Linked DNA regions of Homo sapiens: regions 1, 2, 3, 4, 5 and 7 are each linked to region 6. Evidence: promoter capture Hi-C in 16 types of primary human blood cells and fetal thymus (Javierre and others, 2016). All regions are on one chromosome and are shown on one strand. The core of a region is centred on a gene start or on the middle of the fragment in contact, and the rest is flanking DNA. Distances in the headings are between cores, read along the strand shown.

The links. The method cuts DNA at HindIII sites, captures the fragments that hold promoters and counts their contacts. A CHiCAGO score of 5 or more calls a contact.
Region 1: a contact is called between a fragment that was not itself captured here and the fragment with the promoter of LINC01352 in region 6, in 1 of 17 cell types (neutrophils). The highest score is 5.3, in neutrophils.
Region 2: a fragment that was not itself captured here is called in contact with the fragment with the promoter of LINC01352 in region 6 in 1 of 17 cell types (neutrophils); the score reaches 6.2 in neutrophils.
Region 3: a contact is called between a fragment that was not itself captured here and the fragment with the promoter of LINC01352 in region 6, in 1 of 17 cell types (neutrophils). The highest score is 6.3, in neutrophils.
Region 4: a contact is called between a fragment that was not itself captured here and the fragment with the promoter of LINC01352 in region 6, in 1 of 17 cell types (neutrophils). The highest score is 5.2, in neutrophils.
Region 5: a fragment that was not itself captured here is called in contact with the fragment with the promoter of LINC01352 in region 6 in 1 of 17 cell types (neutrophils); the score reaches 8.1 in neutrophils.
Region 7: a fragment that was not itself captured here is called in contact with the fragment with the promoter of LINC01352 in region 6 in 3 of 17 cell types (neutrophils, monocytes and M0 macrophages); the score reaches 14.5 in neutrophils.

The regions. Positions count from the first base shown.
Region 1 is chr1:221,150,048-221,153,675 of GRCh38, reverse strand. No RefSeq gene overlaps it. Among named protein-coding and RNA genes, the nearest start is that of LINC02817, 180 kb to the left of the region's middle. The HindIII fragment of the contact is 2,250 bases long and covers 626-2,875 here.
Region 2 is chr1:221,206,096-221,209,503 of GRCh38, reverse strand. No RefSeq gene overlaps it. Among named protein-coding and RNA genes, the nearest start is that of LINC02817, 130 kb to the left of the region's middle. The HindIII fragment of the contact is 1,117 bases long and covers 703-1,819 here.
Region 3 is chr1:221,247,888-221,251,247 of GRCh38, reverse strand. No RefSeq gene overlaps it. Among named protein-coding and RNA genes, the nearest start is that of LINC02817, 87 kb to the left of the region's middle. The HindIII fragment of the contact is 2,840 bases long and covers 1-2,832 here.
Region 4 is chr1:221,284,859-221,288,498 of GRCh38, reverse strand. No RefSeq gene overlaps it. Among named protein-coding and RNA genes, the nearest start is that of LINC02817, 50 kb to the left of the region's middle. The HindIII fragment of the contact is 2,285 bases long and covers 1,039-3,323 here.
Region 5 is chr1:221,188,359-221,192,028 of GRCh38, reverse strand. No RefSeq gene overlaps it. Among named protein-coding and RNA genes, the nearest start is that of LINC02817, 150 kb to the left of the region's middle. The HindIII fragment of the contact is 3,757 bases long and covers 1-3,292 here.
Region 6 is chr1:220,827,237-220,830,725 of GRCh38, reverse strand. It overlaps LINC01352 (long intergenic non-protein coding RNA 1352), which reads right to left and starts at 1,471. Exons shown (of 4, transcript NR_110797.1): 1 at 1,284-1,471; 2 at 1-33. The HindIII fragment of the contact is 6,544 bases long and covers 1-3,489 here.
Region 7 is chr1:221,228,099-221,231,393 of GRCh38, reverse strand. No RefSeq gene overlaps it. Among named protein-coding and RNA genes, the nearest start is that of LINC02817, 110 kb to the left of the region's middle. The HindIII fragment of the contact is 1,565 bases long and covers 825-2,389 here.

The DNA.
Region 1 (3,628 bases), core at 501-3,000, 320 kb before region 6:
AGAGAAAAAACTATCTATGAGAAAAAACTAGGCGTGATGGTGAGTTCCTGTGGTCCCAGCTACTCAGAGGCTGAGGCAGGAGGATCTTTTGAGCCCAAGAGTTCAAGGTTACAGTGAGCTATGATCATGCTTCTGCACCACAGCCTGGGCAACAGAGCAAGATCCTATCTCAAAAAAAAAAAAAAAAAAAAAAAAAGGCCGGGCGTGGTGGCTCATGCTTGTAATCCCAGCACTTTGGGAGGCTGAAGCGGGCAAATCACGAGGTCTGGAGACCGAGATCATCCTGGCTAACACGATGAAACCCCGTCTCTACTAAAAAAAAAAAAAAACACAAAAAATTATACGGGCGTGGTGGCAGGCGCCTGTAGTCCCAGCTACTCGGGAGGCTGAAGCAGGAGAATGGCGTGAACCCAGGAGGTGGAGCTTGCAGTGAGCCGAGATTGCGCCACTGCACTCCAGCCTGGGCGACAAAGCGAGACTCCGTTTCAAAAAAAAAAGAAAAGAAAAGAAAAGAAAATCTTGGAGGAACTCATATTTCAGTCTGAGCCTCTGTGCTCCTCGGCACCCTGGACAGATATCTATTTTATCATAGTTCTTATATTTCTCTGATCTTCCATTATAAGCTTACCAGGCTGTCCCTTAAAACTAGATCATGAGCTCCTTAAGGACTGAAATTGTTCTCTTTCTGTTGTTAAAGCAACTTCTCCAACAAGTTGACTACAAGCATATAACAGAGATTTTCCCAAATTTTTCACCAGGGAGGAAATTTTTCCAAAACTCCGATTCAAGTATGTCTCTCTTATAGAGAGGGGGAAAAAAGAACTATAAATATCTGATTATTTAATTAAAATAATATCTAGTTAGCTCCCAACTAATGGTCAACTAGGAGAAAAAGCAATCTTGTTGTTGTTGTTGTTGAATCAGAGTCTCACTCTGTCGCCCAGGCTGGAGTGCAGTGGTACGATCTCAGCTCACCACAACCTCCGCCTCCCAGGTTCAAGCAATTCTCCTGCCTCAGCCTCCCAAGTAGCTGGAATTACAGATGCCTGCCACCATGCCAAGCTAATTTTTGTATTTTTAGAAGAGACAAGGTTTCACCATGTTGGCCAGGCTGGTCTCGAACTCCTGACTTCAGTTGATCCACCCCCTTCAGCCTCCCAAAGTGCTGGGATTACAGGCGTGGACCACCACACCCAGCCTGAAGTATTTTTATCAGTTATACTGATAGTATCCCAAAAGAAGGTAACATATTACATCATGCAAAACTTTCTGCCCCACAGCTCTGTCTCAGTGCCCAGCAGGATGTTACATGAGTAGACACTCATAAGTATTTGAATGAATGGAAGATGCATCAAAGTACTTAGTTATAAAAATTCCAGTATATTTAAAAGATAATGTTTACTACCCCCTTTACAATGAAAATCTTGTGTTTTTAAAATATCTGATTTTAAGCTATGCAAATTACATGTTAATTGTTCACCTAGTGCATGATGCACAATTACCTGCTCTGCCCTCTAACAATATGAGTGACTCCTTGGTAATTGTTGATGCTAATTTAGGAAAGTAACCAGGATTCAAACTCTCCTTCCAATATATTTCCACATATTTTTTAATGAGATATAGCAACTGTGTGAAACTTATAAAGATTCTCCAGGATTTGAAAGAAGCAATGGAAGAATAGAAGAAAATGGTAATACCATTTTCTTGGTCCTACCATGACTAAATTTCACAGATCCATGATTATTGGACACTATTTTTAAAACTACATTATAATATTTGACCTATGAGGATATGAATAGGGTGACCAAATAATATCTCATCAAAATCAGGAAGATTAAACAATTGTTTAAACCAGAGGTTATGATTTTTAATATGATTACTTGCTAAAAGCAATTGTACCATTATATCTTCTTCTCAAAGTTGGGATTTTCACTCATCCAAACAACCTCCATTACTATAGTAAAGAGTAAAATACTTCTGTAAACATCTTAATGATCATTAAGATCAGGAAGTCTCATCGTGGTGACTCCTAGTTAATAACCCATCAATTACCTATCAACTCACATTAAAATATCGTATCAACAAAACAAATTTTTTTATGGTAGATGGAATAATGTTCCCCCCAAAGACATTGACATCTTAACCCCTAAATCTTGTGAATATATGATCTTATATGGCAAAAGGAACATTGCAAATGTGATTAAGTTAAGGACGTTGAGATGAGGAGATCATCCTGCTTTATCAAGGTGGGCCCAATGTAATCACAAGTGTCCTAACAGGAGGGAGGCAGGAGGATCAGGGTCAGAGAAGGGCATGTGGCAATGACAGCAGAAGTCAGAGAGAGAGGTTGAAGATGCTATACTGCTGGCTTTGAGAATGGAGGAAGGGGCCAAGAGCCAAGGAACATAGGCAGCCTTTAGAAGCTGAAAAAGGCAAGGAAGTTTCTTCTCCCATGCAGCTCCAGAATGAGTCATCCCTGCTGACACCTTGACTTTAGCCTTCTGTGACTGATGTTGAACTCTTGACCATCAAAACCACAAAGTAACAAATTATTTGTTGTCTTGAGCCACTAAATTTGTGGTAACTTATTACAGCAGTAACAGAAAATTAATATATTAATTTCAAAATTGTTGCAAATTAGACAACATGCTTAGCACTGGGGACACTAAAATAAGTAAAATGTAGCCTGTGCTATCAATGTTTTTGTTATTTTCATTTGATGATTAGTATGTGTCAATCATCAAACCTCAAGAAATATATATCATATGGCCTGAAATCAATAGAGGAAAACAAGGAAAATGCCCAGGGAGAAGAGCAGTTTTGACTTGATAGTAGAATTTAAATTCTTACATACAAATCTATATAGATGAAAGCTTAAAAAGGATTATTATCAAATTGTATAACTGCCATGTTAAAGAACAGGAATGAAACATAAATTTAAAACAACTAGCCATGGCTGGGCATAGTGGCTCATGCCTATAATCCCAGCACTTTAGGAGGCCGAGGCGGGTAGATTGCTTGAGGTCAGGAGTTTAAGACCAGCCTGGCCAACATGGTGAAACCCTGTCTCTACTAAAATTATAAAAATTAGCCAGGTGTGGGTGGGGGCATGCCCCTGTAATTCCAGCTATTCAGGAGGCTGAGGCAGGAGAATAGCTTTAACCCGGGAGGTCAAGGTTGCAGTGAGCAGAGATGGTGCCATTGCACTCCAACCTAGGAGACACAGTGAGACTCTGTCACCAGCCAAATGACATTACTTTCTAATAATCCCAGTGATACTAAAACCAGAGGGATCCCTCCATATTGTATAGATCCATCTATCAATGACTAGAATCTCATTTTGGTCCAAAAGCCTTAAAACCCTTTTATCATCCTAAATTCGCCATCCACACCTGGTCATCTATTCCAATCCACTCTTCATATGATAACCAGAGTGAAAACACAGATCTTACCATTTCACTCCTATGTTCAAAACTCCCAAAAACTCTAAAGCACAATCTCTCTCTCTCTCCTATTTTCCCATAGCCCTCTATCTATACTTCAGTTTTGTGACTTAAAGATATTACAGTGTCTAAGCTACCTTTGTCTCCCCACTACCTAACACAGTTCCTGGTACAAAGTGGATACA
Region 2 (3,408 bases), core at 12-2,511, 380 kb before region 6:
ATTTTCTGTCTCAGTGATCTGTCTAATATTGACAGTGGGGTGTTAAAGTCTCCCACTCATTGTGTGGGAGTCTAAGTCTCTTTGCAGGTCTCTAAGAACTTGCTTTATGAATCTGGGTGCTCCTGTATTGGGTGCATATATATATTTAGGATACTCACCTCTTCTTGTTGCATTGATCCCTTTACCATTATGTAATGCCCTTCTTTCTTTCTTTTGATCTTTGTTGGTTTAAAGTCTGTTTTATCAGAGACTAGGATTGCAACCCCTGCTTTTTTTTTGCTTTCCATTTGCTTCACAAATCTTCCTCCATCCCTTTATTTTGAGCCTATGTGAGACTTTGGACGTGAGATGGGTCTCCTGAATACAGCACACTGATGGGTCTTGACCCTTTAACCAATTTCCCGGTCTGTGTCTTTTAATTGGGGCATTTAGCCCATTTACATTTAAGGTTAATATTGTTATGTGTGAATTTGACCCATCATTATGATGCTAGCTGGTTATTCTGCTTATTAGTTGATGCAGTTTCTTCATAGTGTCAATGGTCTTTACATTTTGGTATGTTTTTGCAGTGACTGGTACTGGTTTTTCCTTTCCATATTCAGTACTTCCTTCAGGAGCTCTTGTACGGCAGGCCTGGTGCTGACAAAATCCCTCAGCATTTGCTTGTCTAAAGGATTTTATTTCTCCTTCACTTATGAAGCTTAGTTTGACTGGATATGAAATTCTGGGTTGAAAATTATTTTCTTTAAGAACGTTGAATATTGGCCCCCACTCTCTTCTGGCTTGTAGGTTCTCTGCAGAGAGATCTACTGTTAGTCAGATGGGCTTCCCTTTGTGGGTAACCCAACCTTTCTCTCTGGCTGCCCTTAACATTTTTTCCTTTATTTCAACCTTGGTGAATCTGACTATTATGTGTTTTGGGGTTACTATTCTCAAGTAGTATCTTTGTGGTATTCTCTGTATTTTCTGAATTTGAATGTTGGCCTGTCTTGCTAGGTTGGGGAAGTTCTCCTGGATAATATCCTGAAGAGTGTTTTTCAACTTGGTTCCCTTCTCCCCATCACTTTCAGGTACAACAATCAAATGTAGATTTGGTCTTTTCAGCTAGTCTCATATTTCTTGAAGTTTTTGCTTGTTACTTTTTATTCTTTTTTCTCTAATCTTGCCTTCACACTTTATTTCATTCAGTTGACCTTCAATCTCTGATATCCTTTCTTCCACTTGATCTATTTGGCTATCAATACTTGTGTATGATTCACGGAGTTTTCGTGCTGTGCTTTTCAGCTCCATCAGGTCATTTACGTTTTTCTCTAAACTGGTTATTCTAGTTAGCAATTTCTGTAACCTTTCATCAAGGTTCTTAGCTTTCTTGCATTGGGTTAGAACATGCTCCTTCAGCTTGGAGGAGTTTGTTATTACCTACCTTCTGAAGCCTACTTCTGTCAATTCGTGAAACACATTCTCCATCCAGTTTTGTTCCCTTGCTGGCAAGGAGTTGTAATCTTTTGGAGGAGAAGAAACAATCTGGTTTTTGACATTTTCAGCCTTTTTGCACTGGCTTTTCCTCACCTTTTTGGATTTATCTACCTTTGGTGTTTGATGTTGATGACCTTCGGATGGGATTTTTGCATGGTAATCCTTTTTGTTGATGTTGATGCTATTGCTTTCTGTTTGTTAGTTTTCCTTCTAACAGTAGGCCCCTCTTCTGCAGGTCTGCTGGAGTGTGCTGGGGGTACACTCCAGACCCTGTTTGCCTGTGTATCACCAGCAGAGGCTGCAGAACAGCAAAGATTGCTGTCTGCTCCTTCCTCTGGAAGCTTCATCCCAGAGGGGCACCCACTGGATGCCAGCCAGAGCTCTCCTGTATGAGGTGTCTGTCTACTTCTTCTGTGAGGTGTCTCCCCATCAGGAGGTATGGGGGTCAGGGACCCACTTGAGGAGGCAGTCTGTCCCTTAGCAGAGCTTGAGCGCTGTGCTGGAAGATCCACTGCTCTTTTCAGGGCCATCAGGCAGGAAAGTTTAAGTCTGCAGAAGCCACGCTCACAGCCGCCCCTTCCCCCAGGTGCTCTGACCCAGGGAGATGGGAGTTTTATCTATAAGCCCCTGACTGGGGATGCTGCCTTTCTTTCAGAGATGCCCTGCCCAAAGAGGAATCTAGAGAGGCAGTCTGGCTACAGTGGCTTTGCAGTGCTGCAGTGGGCTCAGCCCAGTCAGAACTTCCTGGCGGCTTTGTTTACACTATGAGGGGAAGACTGCCTACTCAAGCCTCAGTAATGGTGGACGTCCCTCCCCCCATCAAGCTTGAGCATCCCAGGTTGACTTCAGACTGCCGTGCTGGCAGCAAGAATTTCAAGCCCATGGATCTTAGCTTGTTGGGCTCCATGGGTGTGGGATCTGCTGAGCTAGACCACTTGGCTCCCTGGCTTCAGCACCCTTTTCAGGGGATTGAACAGATCTGTCTTGCTGGTGTTCTGGGTACCACTGAAATGAAAAAACAACAACAACAAAAAAAAACCTCCTGCAGCTAGCTCAGTGTCTGCCCAAATGGCTACCCAGTTTTGTGCTTGAAACCCAGGGCCCTGGTGGTGTAGGCACCCTAGGGAATCTCCTGGTCTGTGGGTTTCGAAGACTGTGGGAAAAGTGTAGTATCTGGGCTCAAATGCACCATTCCTCACAGCACAGTCCCTTGGGGCTTCTCTTGGCTAGGGGAGGGAGTTCGCTGACCCCTTGCACTTCCCAGGTGAGGTGATGCCCCACCCTGCTTCAGCTCGCCCTCTATGCACTGCACCCACTGTCTAACCAGTCCCAATGAGATGAACTGGGTACCTCAGTTGGAAATGCAGAAATCACCTGCCTTCTGCGTTGGTCTTGCTGGGAGCTGCAGACCAGAGCTGTTCCCATTAGGCCATCTTGCCCGGAATCACATTTCTTCTTTTAGATGAAGACCTGGCTTATAATTTCTGCCAAAGAATATGGATCAGAGTATTTGATCACTGACTATTCTGACTATTCTTAAGGATGGCTACTCTGTGATATTTAGCCATCCATAGACTTAGAGAGGTTTGTAAGTTATCAATTGCTATGTAACAAATATGCCCAAAACTTAGCTGTTCAGAATAACAAACATTTACAATCTCACAATTTCTATGAGTCAAGAATCTGGGCATGGCTTAGCTGAGTGCATTCTGGTTCCAGGTCTCTTGCAAAGCTGCAATGATGGTATGAGCTGGGGCTGCAGTCATCTCAAAGCCTGACTAGGGGAGGATCTGCTTCCAAGACTGCTCATGCGACTCTTGGCAAGCTTCAGGTACTCACTGGCTGTTGACCAGGTTTATAAGGGTTTATTTTTTATTTTTAGGTTTTGTGGGTTTTGTTTGGTTGGTTGGTTTTTGTCATCTGGGCATCTCC
Region 3 (3,360 bases), core at 163-2,662, 420 kb before region 6:
ACTTTGAATTGTGCTTTTATTTTTATACCTTTCCTATATTGAAAAACAAATAATAGAAAGAAAAAGCTAACTCTGTAAGGGAGGGAATACAGCTGATACCCAGTTTGGGCCACCTAGAATGCATCAGAATTAATGATAACTTGGTCTGACAGCATCCTTACCACAAGAGATGAAGTCACCCTAGGAAGTGTTGTAGGGGAAAATAAAATCAACAGAGTGAAAAAGAAAAAAAAAACTATAAAGTCTGAAATATATGTTGTCCAAGTATTTTCCCTCCATTAATTTTGGAAGCCCTTGAGTGTTTTCAGGGAAATTTAATCTGCATGTTTCTGAACCATTTACACTTAACTCACCACAATGTTGCTCTGTAACAGTCATTTGTTGTCCAAGAAACGCTCTGAACCTTGTTCATAAAGATTTTTATTAAAGCAATTGTTTTCTTTTCCCTTAAAATGAAATTATGCTTTTCTGAATTGAAGGGAACATTGAAATGAACCCTAAACTCAAAACTTGTGTGGCACAAATAATAGATCCACTTTTGATCAAAGTGTGTCACCATTCAGATTTCCAACCCAAGGTACTTTGGTTTTGGCAGCATCACAATTAAAGGTTCAGTTGAAAAGACACAGGTTTATTACTCCTTGGATAGCTAAAGTGAGCCCTCTCAGGCCTCTTTTAAAAGCAAGACTTTTAATGAACTTGGCCTGTCTAATAATCAGCTCTGCTTTAGACCCAACTGGAATGAAGCTCTGAACCAGAGTGTGAGAAGTGAGACAATGGAAGTAGCAGAGATGATTCATGATGTTAAGGACTTTATAGTCCAAGGGACTAAACAATAAAATGAAGGCAAACATTGCTCCTACCTCATAGGATTGCAGTAGAGATTAAATGAGATTATCGTATAAGGTGTTTAGCATTTCCAAGAACATAGTAAGACCTCAATATATTTTAACTCCAATAATAATTTATCTTTACAAGTGTTTGTATTGACAATCAGACTCTAAACCAGGCACCTCTAGACAATACACTTAAATAAGACCACTCGACAAGAATGCTCACTCATGCATTTACTCATTCGCCAGCTCCAAAAACCCTTGTGAGAATGAATGACTCCTAGTTCAAAAAGTATTTTTGTACTGAATTTCATGTCATGATTGAAAGCCTAGCTAGAATACTACCATGAGAAAAGCCATTATTGCATTATAAGAATCCGAATGAGTCTGGCTCATGAATCAGCTGATTTAATGTGTACTATATATCAAAAGATTTTGTGAATTTGTTTTGTGTCGTTTAATCTTTAATACCAATGAAGAGTATTTGAAGAGCCCTTTGTTAAATCAGCTACAGAACTTTAATGTATTTTACTCTTATTATATTTGTGATGGTTAGTTTTATGTATCAATTTGGCTAGAGAATAGCTTAGAGTTACCTAATCAAATGCTAATGTAGGTGCTGCCATGAAAGTATTTTGTAGATAGAACAGCTACAATTATAGGTTGGTGCGAAAGTAATTGCGGTTTTTGCCATTGAAAGTCATGGCAGATAACCTAATAATAGTTAACTTTAAGTGAAGACTACCTTCAATAATGTGAGTGGACCTCATCCAATCAGTTTAGAGTCTTAAGAACAATTACTGAGGTTTCTTAGAGAAAAATATATTCTGCCTCAAGACTCCAACAATTCCTGTCCCTGTGTCCAGCCCTCAGACGTGCCAGCTCCCACAATCTGATACAATATCTATTGATCTTTTAAAATGCTAACATTTTTAAAAATCAGAGTAAAGGCACGATCTGGAAAGTAATAAGCTGTTTTGTCTAGTAATTTCTGTAGTAACCTAAATTGTTTCACTTGCCCTCTGGAGGAAGTAGCATTGTCTTTGCTGCCTGCCTATCACCCTTGTGACTTAAGGGTGTACAGGTTTGCCTACCTTACTTGTTGCACAGTGTTACCAGGTAGAGCATGATACATCACTTATTCAACCAATGAACGTTTATTGAAGGTCTACTCTGTACCATGTACTCATCTATACACTGTGGGTTATGGTGGGGGAAGGCAAGGAGGAGGTGGGACAATGAGTCAACAAATAACTAAATAAAATATATATAAAATGATGGTAAGTCCTTTGGTGAGAAACAAATTAGGAGAAAAGATAGGTAATGCTAGAGGAAGGGTATAATTTTAAATAGGTTGGTCAGTGAAGGCATTCCTAAAAATATGACCTTTGAGCAAAGCCAAGGTGTCAATTATGCTATTTAATATTGGTAAATATTTATATTTTAAAATAACAGAAGAACCGGATTCAAAATGGCTTGAGCAATAAGAAAGCTATGTTTTCACATAATAGTAATAATGGCCAGGTGCGGTGGCTCATGCCTGTAATCCCAGCACTGTGGGAGGCCAAGGCGGGCAGATCACGAGATCAGGAGATCAAGACCATCCTGGCTAACATGGTTAAACCCCATCTTTACTAAAAGTACAAAAAATTAGCTGGATGTGGTGGCACGCGCTTGTAGTCCCAGCTACTCGGGAGGCTGAGGCAGGAGAATCACTTGAACCTGGGAGGCGGAGATTGCAGTGAGCCAAGATCACGCCACTGCACTCCAGCCTGGGTGACAGAATGAGACTCTCTCAAAAAAAAATAGGAATAATAAGAATAGCTAACATTTATTGAGTGTCTACTATATGCCAACCACTCTTCTAAGCACTTTGCATATATTAATTCACAACAGCCAGCTAAGCTAGGTCTATTCACTAACGGGGTGACCAAGATTCAGAGAAATTAAGAATTTTCCAAAAGTTATGGAATCGATATATGGCATAGCTCTGCAAGCTTGTCCTCAGCTCAGATTCTCACTCATCAGGAGGAAGACGAGTTCCAGGTACAAAGGATCAAGGCTCTGTCTAATGTCTTCAGTATCTCTCCTACCTGGTATTGCTTTCATCTTTAGATGTAGTGAGGTGTCTACAGTATTTCCATGGGCCACACCTAGATACAAAAAAGGAGATCTTTCTTCTCTTCCTGAGAAGAAGGTAGTGTTCCCAGGAGACACCAGCATACTCCCCTCCACAGAGCAAAGGCTAGCAGTGGGTCACAAGCCCATCCCTAAACCAACCACTACAAAGAGGAATGAAATTAACAGGTTCGGGTCAAAGTAATTCCTTGGAGGAGAGGATGGGATGTTGGGGATTCAAACACAAAGACTACTCCAGTGTTGTAATAAGGGTGTGTTTATGATGTTCTCATCAGCCAGGCCCAGTAAGAGAGGAGAGTAGGCACCAAACCTTTCATAGCTGGAGTGCATGGCTGTATGTAACTGTCCTAGGAGAATCTAAATATTTCATTCACTTGATCCTGTTAGC
Region 4 (3,640 bases), core at 932-3,431, 460 kb before region 6:
TGTTAAATTGGCAAACCAGGACTCAGATATTAGATATTTACTCTAAAGGCCATGGTTTTATAATTTATAGATTACACTGATTCTCATTTCTGAGTTTTTCTCTCTCTCTCTCTTTCTCTCTATATCTGTTTCTCTCCCTCTCTGTCTCTCTCTCTCTCTCTCAAATGACTTAAATGTTAAATCTCCTATTTTTATATCTCTAATGATAATATGTAAATTTTGATTAATTATATTTCAACATATTTTCAAACAAATTAGGTAATAGTTCACCATCTACAACCGATCTCTCCTGAAAAAATACAAGATTACAGGCATACTTCCACTACTGCTCCTCTGCCTAAAGTTGTGTTGAAATAATCTAAATTGTTTTTCCCAGGTTACCATATTGTTATTAATTTTATTTTGCATTATATTTTTTCAACTTACTGGCCAACAATTTTGTCTTATATTCTGAAAAATCTTCTTCTACTGACTGTATATAACTAATATGTATTTCATCTATGCTCATTCTGTTACTTGGCTTCTTTTCTTTAATTTTTGGGCACTGGTGACCAAACGATTAATATTTGAATTTCCTAAATTTAATTCTTATTCTTTGACTGGTTCTTTATCATTGCAGCCTGTTCTTATTTGGCTAAAACAGAGTTCTAAATTTTCCAATGTTACTTGGTAGAATTTTTATCCAGTTTCCTCTTTTGCATGCACAATTTCTGTTTCTTCCAGTTTCAATAATGTTTTTTCACTCTTTCTTATACGCAGTAGATTATTCTCAAATAAGTTTTCACTGTTCATTTAGATTTATGACTACAGTGATTAATAATGATAGTAATTTTCTCTGTAGTCCTAGAAGTATGTTTCAACAACATGCTGAAGGGAAAGAAGACTTCGTGGGTATGCTAATAGGCAGGCCCCAATTACCAAAATGAGAAAACCTTTTCTTTGGGAGTATAGTTTTTTAGAATATTTTATTTCTAAATAGAATTGAGTTTCCTTTGCCATTCTCTGAATCCTTTTGTATTTCTAAAATTATCTCAAGCTTCATCTTCATTTCTTTCCTGAGTCCCTCCAGTAGGCATACTAAGACTTTCCCAGATGATACATGATATTAATAATCATTATGAAGATGCATTTTCTCTAAAATATGTACTTTACTTGAATTATTTTATTTTATTCTCAAAACCACTCTATGAAGTTGAAACTTTTATTAAGCATGTTTTATAGATAACAAAACCTAGTCTAATGAAACCCATGGAGATTAAAGGCCTTGTCCAAGGTTACATACCTAGTAAAGAAGGATGGAGCCAGGATGTGGATTCAGACAGGCTGACTTAAACACAGGTCCACAATGCCTCTCTCTGATATGCTGTCACTCTTCTCTAATGTAGTGTGGGATATGGAATCCTCTTTAACCCTTGATCAGGTCACGGAGCATGGAGGAAAATTCCAGAAAGAAAGTCTGGCTGGAACAAAGAAATGGATTATAGGGAGGTATGCTTTAAGCTCTGAGGCATGGAATTTTTTTTATCTGAGAAGGCAGAGTTCTCATAATGGCTTACCCAGGCCACACTTTGGAGATTTAAGAGTCTGTGATAGCTCAGTTTCAGGCTGTTGTTGCTATGATTTATAACCAGGATTCAGTCCTTTGCATAGCGGTCATATGCCATTCTGTCCAGACTTTAGTGCTCAAAAGATTGCCCCTTGTCATTCCAACCCCAGTTAATAGGAAACACAAACCACCCTTGAGATGACAAACCTATCTTCTAACCATTGACTAGTTCAGCTCCTTAGCTCTGCAGAAGTTGAGCTTTCTATTTTTAGAGTTTGGCAAGGCAGAAGACATGCTGGGTGAGCTTTGTTTAAGGCCCCCCACCAGACTCTGCTTGCCACAAAATCCAGCCAAACATACCGTGTAGCAGGCCAATTAAGCTGCAGCTGTCTGTCAACTGAATCAAAGATGGGAGTGGACAACAAGGGGCTGTTTTTGCCACAGACAGTAAGCAGAACACAGGATTAACTTTCCTGCCCTTAAAGCTCTGTAGAGTAACCTGCCATTTATTCTATCTGTATAGTAAGAATCCTTGCTTTTTATTACAGGAGCTTGACCAAGCTACCTCTGGCAAAACAAAGGGATCTCACCTTAACTGTCCATGGCAGGGTTGGGGGTACGGGGCAGGTAGGTATCTGTTTTATAGGTCATCATAAGATACCTAGTATCAAACCTGGTATCAAAAAACCTGGTTGTGGGAAATGATTTTTTATCAAGAGTTGCCTCAAAGTTGTGAGAGGTGACAGCGTGCTGGCAGTCCTCATAGCCCTTGCTCGCTCTCGGCGCCTCCTCTGCCTGGGCTCCCACTTTGGCGGCACTTGAGGAGCCCTTCAGCCCACCGCTGCACTGTGGGAGGCCCTTTCTGGGCTGGCCAAGGCCGGAGCCTGCTCCCTCAGCTTGCAGGGAGGTGTGGAGGGAGAGGGGCCAGCCCCGGGGCTGCGCGCCGCGCTTGCGGGCCAGCTGGAGTTCCGGGTGGGCGTGGGCTTGGCGGGCCCCGCACTCGGAGCAGCCGGCCGGCCCTGCCGGCCCGGGGCAATGAGGGGCTTAGCACCGGGGCCAGTGGCTGCGGAGGGTGTACTGGGTCCCCCAGCAGTGCCAGCCCACCGGCGCTGCGCTCCATTTCTCGCCGGGCCTTAGCTGCCTTCCCGCAGGGCAGGGCTCGGGACCTGCAGCCCGCCATGCCTGAGCCTCCCACCCTCTCCGTGGGCTCCTGTGCGGCCCGAGCCTCCCCGATGAGCGCCGCCCCCTGCTCCACAGCGCCTAGTCCCATCGACCACCCAAGGGCTGAGGAGTGCGGGTGCACAGCGCGTGACTGGCAGGCAGCTCCAACTGCAGTCCTGGTGCGGGATCCACTGGGTGAAGCCAGCTGGACTCCTGAGTCTGGTGGGGATGAGGAGAACCTTTATGTCTAGCTCAGGGATTGTAAATACACCAATCAGCACTCTGTATCTAGCTCAAGGTTTGTAAACACACCAGTCAGCACCCCGTGTCTAGCTCAGGGTTTGTGAATGCACCAATCGACACTGTATCTAGCTACTCTGGTGGGGCCTTGGAGAACCTTTGTGTGGACCCTCTGTATCTAGCTAATCTGGTGGGGAAGTGGAGAACCTTTGTGTCTAGCTCAGAGATTGTAAACGCACCAATCAGCGCCCTGTCAAAACAGACCACTGGGCTCTACCAATCAGCAGGACGTGGGTGGGCCAGATAATAATAAAAGCAGGCTGCCCGAGCCAGCAGTGGCAACCCGCTGGGGTCCCCCTTCCACATTGTGGAAGCTTTGTTCTTTCGATGTTTGCAATAAATCTTTCCACTGTTCACTCTTTGAGTCCACACTGCCTTTATGAGCTGTAACACTCACCGCGAAGGTCTGCAGCTTCACTCCTGAAGCCAGCGACACCCACGAGCCCACCGGGAAGCCCAAACAACTCCAGACGCGCCGCCTTAAGAGCTGTAACACTCATGGCGAAGGTCTGCAGCTTCACTCCTGAGCCAGCGAGACCACGAACCCATCAGAAGGAAGAAACTGTGAACACATCTGAACATCAGAAGGAACAAATTCTGGACACGCTGCCTTTAAGAACTGTAACACTCACC
Region 5 (3,670 bases), core at 165-2,664, 360 kb before region 6:
AATAAAGATAATCCTACACATATATTTACTCCTTCGTATTGCCTTAGATCCTTCCTATGAACAAAGCTAGGCACATTAGTCCCCAAACAAATCACCAACATGGCCAATACAAGGCCACATTAAGAATACAAAGATGAACTGCTAAAAGAGTGGATCCTCCTAACCCCCATACAGGAGGATTTTTGCCTTGACTCTTTACTCTCCTTCCTTTGTTTTCATGAGCACTCAATGGAAAGCAATACTTAACATGTTCTATTGCAGATAGATATATCCTGCAACATTTCATTTCATGAAATTTGGAGCCATAAAGAAAACCTGTCTCCTTCGTTCATTTTCTCCCAGAAGTTTGGAGTCTTGGACTCCTGAGGGGGAAAATGTTACAGTGGGTACCTAGTCAGGCATGAGCAGGGCAGGGGAGGGCTTCCCTACCACACACACCAGAGCATTGGGCCCAGTTACATTAATTTTTAAGTAGTGAAAAAATGAATGGGCTTGCTAAGCCCATTCCTAAATATTTCCTTATGCTACCTGTGTTAGTCAGGGCTGCCATAACAGAATGTCACAGGCTGGGTGGCTTAAACAACAGAGTTTTATTTCTTACAGTTCTGGAGGCCGGAAGTCCAAGATCAAGGCACCAACAGAGTTGGATTCTGGTGAGGACTCTCTTTCTGTCCTGCAGACAGCTGCCTTCTCTCTGTCCTCACATGGGCTTTCCTCCATGCATGTATGGGGGTGGGGGGTGGGGGGTGGGGGGGTCAGGGGGTGAGAGAGAGAGAGAGAGAGAGAATCTGATGTCTCTTATAAGGTCCTCGGTATTACTGGATTAGGGCCGCCCTAGCAGACTAATACACCACCCGTCACCATTCTCAAGGGACCATCAATGAAAAGGTTATGAGGCTTTAAAAAACATACGTGTTTCCTCCAGCCCCACCCAAATCAGATCCCCAAATCTGTATCTACTCACCCACCTACTCGTTTATCTTACCATTCATCTATTAATCCATTCATTTCTTTATACATTTAACCAAACTTTATTGAGTTTGTGCCAGGCACTGTGCTTGTGTTGGAAATACAGTTATCTGTCCTGTCCTCAATGAATTAGAAATTAGATATGTTCACTGATACATATGTAATTAATTTTTAATTACACAAGGAACACACAAATATGGTCTTCTTTAAAAAGTCATAACCAATAAATTTAAACTCCTCTTTAACATCAACTCAATCACTAGAGTTAGCTCTGTTAGGACTTTTAAATCTATGTTATTTAATATTTTCAAACTTATGTATATGTACCCATAGAAACTGCTACTATAAGTGTCAATCAATACTTACATTTTTCATGCAACAATATGTATTTTTAGCTCTATCTATTGTCATTATATAAATAACCAGTATATTATTTTTAACTTTTGTGGAATACTATGTCTTGTGAATCCAATTATTGGCTATCCTACTATTTGTGGATTGTTTACTTCACCATTATTCCAGAGAACGTCCTTTTACCTATATTATTGCCCACATGTGCAAGTGTAGGCTGGATATTAAAAAAGGGGAAGTCTTAGGTAGATGCATTTCTCATTTTAATGACTACTGCTATGTAGCCCTCTGAAGTGGCATATTATGATATACTCTACATTATAGTCTCATCAGCAATGTATTGGAGTATCTAGTTCTCCACAAACTTCCCAGTTCTTTTTTTTTTTTCTTTTTTTTTGAGACAGGGTCTCACTCTGTTGCCCCAGCTGAAGTGCAGTGGCTCACTGCAGCCTTCGCCTCCAGGGTTCAAGTGATCCTCCCTCCTTAGCCTCCCAAATAGCTGGGATCACAAGCATGCACCACCATGCCTGGCTAATTTTTGTATTTTTAGTAGAGACACGGTTTCACCATGTTGCCCAGGCTGGTCTCAAACTCCTGACCTCAAGTGATCCACCGGTCTTGACCTCCCAAAGTGCTGGGATTACAGTTGTGAGCCATCACACTCAGCCTCTTCCCAGTTCTTATTGTACTTTGTATTTTATTTATATATTTGTTTGTTGCCTATTTAATGGGTAAAAATTATGTCTTATTCATTGTTTTATTTTACGGTTTTCTAGTTAGTACTTAAATTGAGCATCTTTTCATGTTTTGTTGGCCGGCTGTATTTCCTCTTCTGTGTCTTGCCTATTGTAGACTTTGCCTATTTCTTTCTATTTGGATGTCTGTCATCGCAATTTTGTACTGGTTTGTAGATATTCTTTATATTTTTAAGGTACAAATATTTTTGTATGTGAAAAAAAAAGTCTTCTCCCAGTCTGTTGCTTGTATTTTATCTTTTTTTTTTTTTTTTTTTTTTTTTTTGAGACGGAGTCTCGCTCTGTCGCCCAGGCCGGACTGCGGACTGCAGTGGCGCAATCTCGGCTCACTGCAAGCTCCGCCTCCCGGGGTTCACGCCATTCTCCTGCCTCAGCCTCCCGAGTAGCTGGGACTACAGGCGCCCGCCACCGCGCCCGGCTAATTTTTTGTACTTTTAGTAGAGACGGGGTTTCACCTTGTTAGCCAGGATGGTCTCGATCTCCTGACCTCATGATCCGCCCGCCTCGGCCTCCCAAAGTGCTGGGATTACAGGCGTGAGCCACCGCGCCCGGCCGCTTGTATTTTATCTTTACTTATGATGTCTTTTTGTTATATAGAAGTTTTCTTTCTCTTTTATGATATGGTCAACTGTGAATATTTCCTTGTATTTTTGATTTTTGTATTTTTATTTTTTGGAGTTTTATAACATATATGTAAACATTTAGATCTTTAAGCTATTTGTTGTTGTCTGGGGGTAGGTTTTTTGCATAAAATATGAAGACATTGGATTTCTTTTTCCATATGAGGAGCCAATTGTCCTAATATCAATCTCTCCCAATTTTCAAATGTCATTTTTAATTCCAAATTTCTAAATACACATGATTTGTTTTCTTTATTGTATTTTCTTGATGTGGTGCTCTTATCCTGACTCTTACAGATACTATAAACTCATGTTTTGACATACAGTAGGACTAGTTATCTTTCTTTGCTTTCTACCAATTTTATCTTTTTAGAATTCTTGTATATGAATTTCAGAACCAGTTTATGAAGTTCTGGCAATCACATTAGATTTATAAGCTAGTTTTAGAAGAACTGATATCCTTGCCATATTGAGTCAAACTCCCGTAACCAAATTTCTTGAAACATAGTGACACCCATTTCCTTCTAAAGCACCCAGCTAGAAGGGCATTCTCAGAGCAACCACATATTTCAGTTCTCACCAATTGAGTTGAAAGCTTACACACCCTTTCATGACAACTGCACTCATTAATATTATTATGCAATTTAAGTGAATATGATGCAAACCCATAGCAAGCGAAAAAGAGAGTTGTTCATACCAAAGCAAAATTAAATGCTTTGGAAAAGCTCAATGAAGGGAAGTTGCTAAAATAAGATGTAAGTGAGAGATTGGTCAAACATTAAAGCAAGCAAATTGTGAAATTCTAGAGTCTTCTCTCAGATTGCTTCATCATTCGAAGCTACTAGTTTCAATTCAAAGGCAATGAAACTGGACATCCAAGATGACATCTCTATGAATATGATTTATAAAAAAGTCAATGAAGAGCTCCAATCAATGGCCTTGGATAAAGACCATAGCTCTACAGCAACACATTGG
Region 6 (3,489 bases), core at 222-2,721:
TCCATCCAATCTCTCATTTTACACTTGAAGAAACTGAGGCTGAGAAAGGGGAAGTGACTTGGCCAAGGCCACACAGCAAGGTCAAGATCCAAGACTAAAACCAATTGCTTCTCTGTTTTGCTTATTACTACAGCACAGAAATAAAGAAATAGAGAATGGGAGAGGAGAGGTAGGTGTGGGGAGGCGATATGAAAACATGGAACAAGTGCTCTGCTTTTAGAATAACTAGAACTTTGAGCCCAGAAGATTTCTTTTCTTTTAATAAATAAATGTTTTATAATCTTACTTCTGTGGCTGGTGGGAAAAAAAGTCCTTCAAGTCCCCAAGGAATGTTAGGAAAACCTCCATTAAATTCTAGTCTTCAAATCTGAGTCATAATAACTATAATAAACTCTGGGAGTGTTTCCTTAGAGTTTCTCTTTTAGGGTGGAGAGGAGGCAGCAAAAAGAATAGGCAAGTTTTCACAAGAAAAACTTGTAAATAGGCAAGTATAACAAGAAAATGTATAAACCGGGATGGCTTCATAATTAGGCATAGCCTAATTGTGCTTATGTGTCTAGTCAAGAAACTCTATCTAGAGTTCCAGGGGAAGAAGGTGTTGGGGATGAGGGAGTAGGATTGGTTTGAGGGTAGTAGACTATATAAGGCATCATGCTCCTTCCCATGGAGGGGATGTATGATGGTTAATATTAGGTGTCAACTTGATTAGATTGAAGGATGCAAACTATTGTTCCTGGATGTGTCTGTGAGGGTGTTGCCAAAGATATTAACTTTTGAGTCAGTGGACTGGGAGAGGCAGACCCACCCTCAATCTGGGCGGGCACCATCTAATCAGCTGCCAGCACAGCCAGAATAAAAGCACACAGAGGAACATGGAAGGAGTAGACTTGCTGAGTCTTCCAGCCTTCATCATTCTCTCGTGCTGGATACTTCCTGCCCTCGAACAACAGACTCCAAGTTCTTCAGCTTTTGGACTCTTGGATTTACACCAGCAGTTTGCCGGGGGCTCTGGGGCCTTCAGAAGGCTGCACTGTCAGCTTCCCTACTTTTGAGGTTTGGGGACTCGGACTGGCTTCCCTGCTCTTCGGCTTGCAGACAGCCTATTGTGGGACTTCACCTTGTGCTCATGCAAGTCAATACTACTTAATAAGCTCCCCCTCATTTATACATCTATCCTGTTAGTTCTGTCCCTCTAGAGAAACCTGACTAATATAGCATGTGTATGTGCTTTTCCCTTTGCTTGGAATGCTTGTCCCCACTCTGACCCTAAGCACCACCACAACCTTCCTTCCTGGAGCTCAGGCTGTTATCCTCCAGGGCTCTGCTGATTCCCTGGGCACCCCGCACTCTGCTTCACAGCACTCATCACATTTGTCACTTGTGTAATTTGTTGCTTATCCCAGGCTTCCGTATTACATGATAAGCTCCATTAATGACAGTGTTGTCTGCCTTGGTTTTGTTCATGATGAGCACAGTGCCTGGCCCACAGTACCAGCTCACTAAGTATTTAGCAAAGGGCTTTATGAGGTCATCCCTGGCTCCAGCACCTCACAATCTTTATGGTGACTGTTCAGAGGGCAGCTAAGCAGAAAAGAAGTTTTCAACAAGGCTGTTTCTGGCCTGTTTTCCCTCTCAGTACTACATGGCAAGTCACGTCTCCAAACTGAGGAGTGTGCCTGAAGAGTCAGGTCTGGCAGAGAAAGGATTTCTTGCCCTAGGTTTAAACAAGCAATGTCAACATAACTTCCAAAGGCATCGGCTGCTTGGAAGAAGTGAATCCCTTGGGTCATTCCCTTGATTATTGTGAACCCGTGGCTGAGCAGGACAGAAATGTCACACAGGTGGACTGAGAACAAAATGATTTCAGATATGGGAGCCCCAAAGTGGCATCCCAAGGACAAGTGCTCAGAATTGCATGACTTGGTTTTCTGTTGAGCTATTCTGTCTTGGATAATTACAGCATGAGCTCTTGGCCAGTGGTGGGAATTAATTGGTTTTAATTCTCCCGCAAAGATTCTCTTAAGTAAAAGTAAAACATTTGCAAACTGGAGTTCTTTGAGTTATTGGTAACAACTTACTTTGCACCTCATAGCACACTGGTTAATAGCCTCCGCCAAATAACTAATATTTAGGCACTTTGCTAATGTATGCAAAGTGCTTTTAAGTATTATGCTATTAAATCTTCACAACATCACAGGTAGGTATTAGCACCATCTTACCTATTTTATGGATATCCAAACAGAGGTCTTCAAAAGTTAGAAAATCTGCACAGTCACAGAGCCAGTGGAGCCACAGCTGAGGCATGGACAGGCTGCTCTCCTACCACCTGCCAGGCCGCTCTTGCCCAGCTCATGAGGTCCAAAGTTTTCTCAACAAACTGCTTGGTGTCGATGTTGTAACCTGGAGCATTGCCCTGCAGCAGAAAGGCAGGCCTGGACATTCGCATGTCAGCATGGGGCGAAGCTGATAATTTCCAGTTGGGATCCAAGAAAAAGAAAAGCTCTCCACATGCCAACAACATTGTTATGAAGCTCTCTTGACCCAGCTACCCAACAGTGATCTCAAACATTTGGTCTCTCCAGTGTGTGTATGGGGGTGGGGGGCAGCTGGGCGTGTAGCCTTGTACACTTTGCACTTGGAGAGGTAGGGACAGGGGTCTAAATTAAGGGAAACCCTGCCCAGGGGCTGGCTTTGGGAAGCATGCCCAGCAGCCATGTGGAAGTTCACTGCATTACGGTGAATTACACCAGGTGGGGTGAGTACAGGACAAGGAAGTAGAAGTCAGAGCCTGCTTTTCAAAATCACCCTGCAGGCTGTTGTCCCCAGAAGAAGAGATCAACCTCAGGGGAGACCAGAGTCCTAAACACAAAACAAAAGAGTAATAAGGGAGGAAGCAAATGAAGTTGCTTATCTCATTTATTTATTTTTCTCTCCCATTTCCGCCTATGCTCCTCCAACTGAACCCCCCCTAGTCTCTGGTTTCCTGGCCACTATCTGGCCAATAACCTCCACATTAGCATCCCCAGCCCCTCTGTGCCCCCTGTAATCTCTTCTCCAGGCTTTGCTGAGGACTGTATTTACTGCCACACAGGATTTCCGTAGGTGATAACAGCAGGGCCTGGTTGGCTTGACCCTCTGTTCAGAGCCAACCCTTGGCTTCTTATGGTGTCCTCTTACAGCAAGGGAAGAATCTTAGTTTCTCCCAAGAATGTGACTCTCTTTAAGTGTCTTACCTACACTCAACAACTAAGCAAGCCTCTTGATGAGCAGCCCTTCACTCTCACATCCTCAACACTGTGGACTGAGAATTTACATTTTTTTAAAAAGGCAGGGCACAGTGGCTCATGCCTGTAATCCCAGCACTTTGGGAGGCTGAGATGGGAGAATCGTTTGAGGCCACAAGTTTGAGACCAGCCTGGCCAACACAGGGAGACTCCATCTCTACAAAAAAATTTTTAAAAATTAGCCAGGCATGTGCTACTTGGGAGG
Region 7 (3,295 bases), core at 358-2,857, 400 kb before region 6:
GGTTTTTAATTTTTTTTTTTAATTTTTAAATATGTGAGTGAGTGAGAGTAAAGTACTGAGGCTGATTCCACAAACCATGCAAAAAAAATTGTCTTTAGTATTTGCCAATGGCCATTCCTTAAATGATAGACTAACAAATCACTGAATCATGCCCTTTTGCTGTGATAAGGAGATATAGAGATGAAAATTATCTTTTCAGTTTTTCATTTAAAAAATAATCCCTACATTTATCCAGGAGGTTGATTTGTTTTGAAAGAACACCATAAAATTTAGATGTAGAAATTAAGATTACTCATCTTTCTGGTGAACTGAAGACACTAAAACAAGTCCTGTATACTTAGGTAGGACCATATACATCAATTGATAAACAAATAAAATAAATATTTTAAACTCCATATTGCCTTCACAGAACCTAGGCCTGTAACGTATTCACTAAGCAAACTACTGTTTAATTATTGCCTTACTCTGCATACCTTACTCTGCATATGCCAAAAATAGGCTGCATGTTTTAGGCTGTGTGGCAAGTAGAATGACCAATGTTTCTATTTCCCAGGGCTGTGGCAACAGCCCAGTATTTAGATAGCTGCTTCCTTGCCAACAGAACACAAGAGAGCATAAATTTACTACCAAACATAGATGCCAGGGAAACAAGGAAACCCTGAGGTCAATGCCCTAGCCCATGTAGGAAATTTTATTCTTTGGGTGAGTATAAAGAGTTCAGCAAAAAAGGTCAGAGAGGAGTAAGGAGGTATGCCAATTTCAGTAGCTTGTTTAACTACTTTGGGATTCCATTAGCCTACCTATTAAGATAACTTAGTAAAGCTTATTCATCTCAACTTTATTTCCAAGGACAAAAGGCATGACATTTTGAGTCAAGCAAGGCTGGACTGAGTTTTGTAACAACTTACTATTTGAGCGAACCTAGGCAAATCTCCAATATTGGTTTCTCCATCATAAAATAAGACTACTAAAAATACCAATTTCAGAGGATTGTTACTGTAGGATTTGCAAGATAATAATGTAAAACAACACAGTGTCTGACATTAGTATGCACTCAAATGTGAGCTATAACTTTTGTAGCAACAACTGTTTGAATACTTACTATGAGCAAAACTTTGTGCTAGAAAACTCTGATAGACATAAGGATAAATTAGACATATTTCCTCCCTGCCAGGAGCTTAGATTCTAACAGATGAGATAAGAGGAAGTTATAAACTCCAAGACAGCAAAGACTTTATGTTTCTCATTCACCTTTCTATATCTAGCACTGACAACAGTTTCTGGTATATAGTTGGTATACAACAAATTTTATATATATATAACTTTCTACTAGGTAAAAGTAGTAGATTATATATTATACTTATTTATATATAGTATATACTATAAAAAGTAGTAGATTACAGGTGGCTAGATCAATTTTTATATATAAATCTATCTATAATCTACTACTTTTACCTAGTAGAAAGTGCTAAAGTGAATAGGAGAAATAAAGAGAAAATATAGGTATATAAGTAAGAATCAGGACTGTGTAAGAATTTATCCATAGTTTCTCATCTGTAAAAGGATGGTAATTACACTTGCCCTGCTTCCCTCATACAGGTTATTGCAGAGTTCAAATTAAGAGTATGCTTACCTGGAGGCCAGGCGTGGTGGCTCATGCCTGTAATCCCAGCACTACGGGAGGCCGAGGCGGGCGGATCACAAGGTCAGGATATCGAGACCATCCTGGCTAACACGGTGAAACCCCGCCTCTACTAAAAAATACAAAAAATTAGCCGGGCGTGGTGGCGGGCGCCTGTAGTCCCAGCTACTCTGGAGGCTGAGGCAGGAGAATGGCGTCAACCCGGGAGGCGGAGCTTGCAGGGAGCCGAGATTGCGCCCCTGCACTCCAGCCTGGTCGACAGAGCGAGACTCTGCCTCAAAAAAAAAAGAAAAAAAAGAAGAAGAGTATGCTTACCTGAAGTCAGTAGATGGATGAGGCAGGTAGAAAAAGGACAATGAATTAATCCATATAAAATTAATGACGTTTGCCAAGAGTCGTGTAGTGCTTACTATGTGCTAGAGACAGTTCTAAACATTTCACGTGTTAGCTAATTTAATCCTTGCAACAACTCTGTGAGATAGGCCTTATTATCCTCATATTGCAGAAAGGGAAACTGAGGCACGGATAGGTTAAATAACATGCCCAAGGTCATGTAGGTAGTAAGCCACATAAGTCGGATTAAGCAAAGGGATTCTTGTCTCCCAACCAGTGCAGCCAGGAGCTCAGACTTTGCTGTTATTTTGACTTATTGGAAAATGCTGGTCCTTTCCAATCAAGAGCCTCTGAATCCTCCGTCTCTGTCCCTCTCTTTCTAGCAACCCTCTCCAACGCTTTCTACCACAAGCTTAATTTTATTATTTTGACTGCTTGCTAGGAGGAGGAGGAAGAGGAAGAGTGAGCTATAAATATCCCTTCCTAAGTGCCCCCCAAAGTGAAACCACCTGCGCCTGTGTGAGGTAGCAGGAGAAGCAGAGAGCCTCAACTGTGGAGAGAGGTTTGCATCCCATCATTCAACGGAGTGTTTTAGAGACCTCCTGCCGGGCTGACTGCTGCGAAGGGGAGTAAAGTAAACAAGCCACAATGAATGGTGTCACTACAGGGTTTTATCATCTACCTGCTTGATTATGTCAGTAAGAACTCAAAAGCAAGTTCTGGGCAGATAAAGCATCCTGAGAAAGCTGAGCTTTGGGTTTACTGAGCCCCCAGCTATCGAGCACCTTTTGGGGTTATGGGGCACTCAGGCACTTATTAGGGATAGCCTGTTTGCTCTCACTATATCCTTGGGTATGGAAACATTCTGCAAACTGGAAATAGAACAAATATTCCTGCGACCAACTAATAATAGAGGAAAGGCATCAGTGGGGTCAGGCTGTCTTTTCAACTGGAAGAGCAAGTACATTTCCATTCTGCAGGTGTCTGGGTGCAGCCCTTTTATACATCCTAAAAGAAAACTTGCCAAGATTACAGAGTAAATCAGTGATTAACCTCCGTCCACAGCGTTGTTTAATCCGCAGTTTTATAAGGCCAGCACAGTGATGAACCAGCCAACTCTTCTGAGGATTCACTCACTCTGGACAGACCATTCTGGAGGTCAGCTCTAGGGCAGAACTGAGTTAGCAAAAGTTAGCTGTGCTTGCTTTTGCCAAAGAGCAAGGTTTCTCTTGAAACACCCACACATGGTTTCAGGTGCGCCACACACACACGCACAGACAACCACAAGGAATTTTTATTTTCTTCAATCCCAATCCAGAG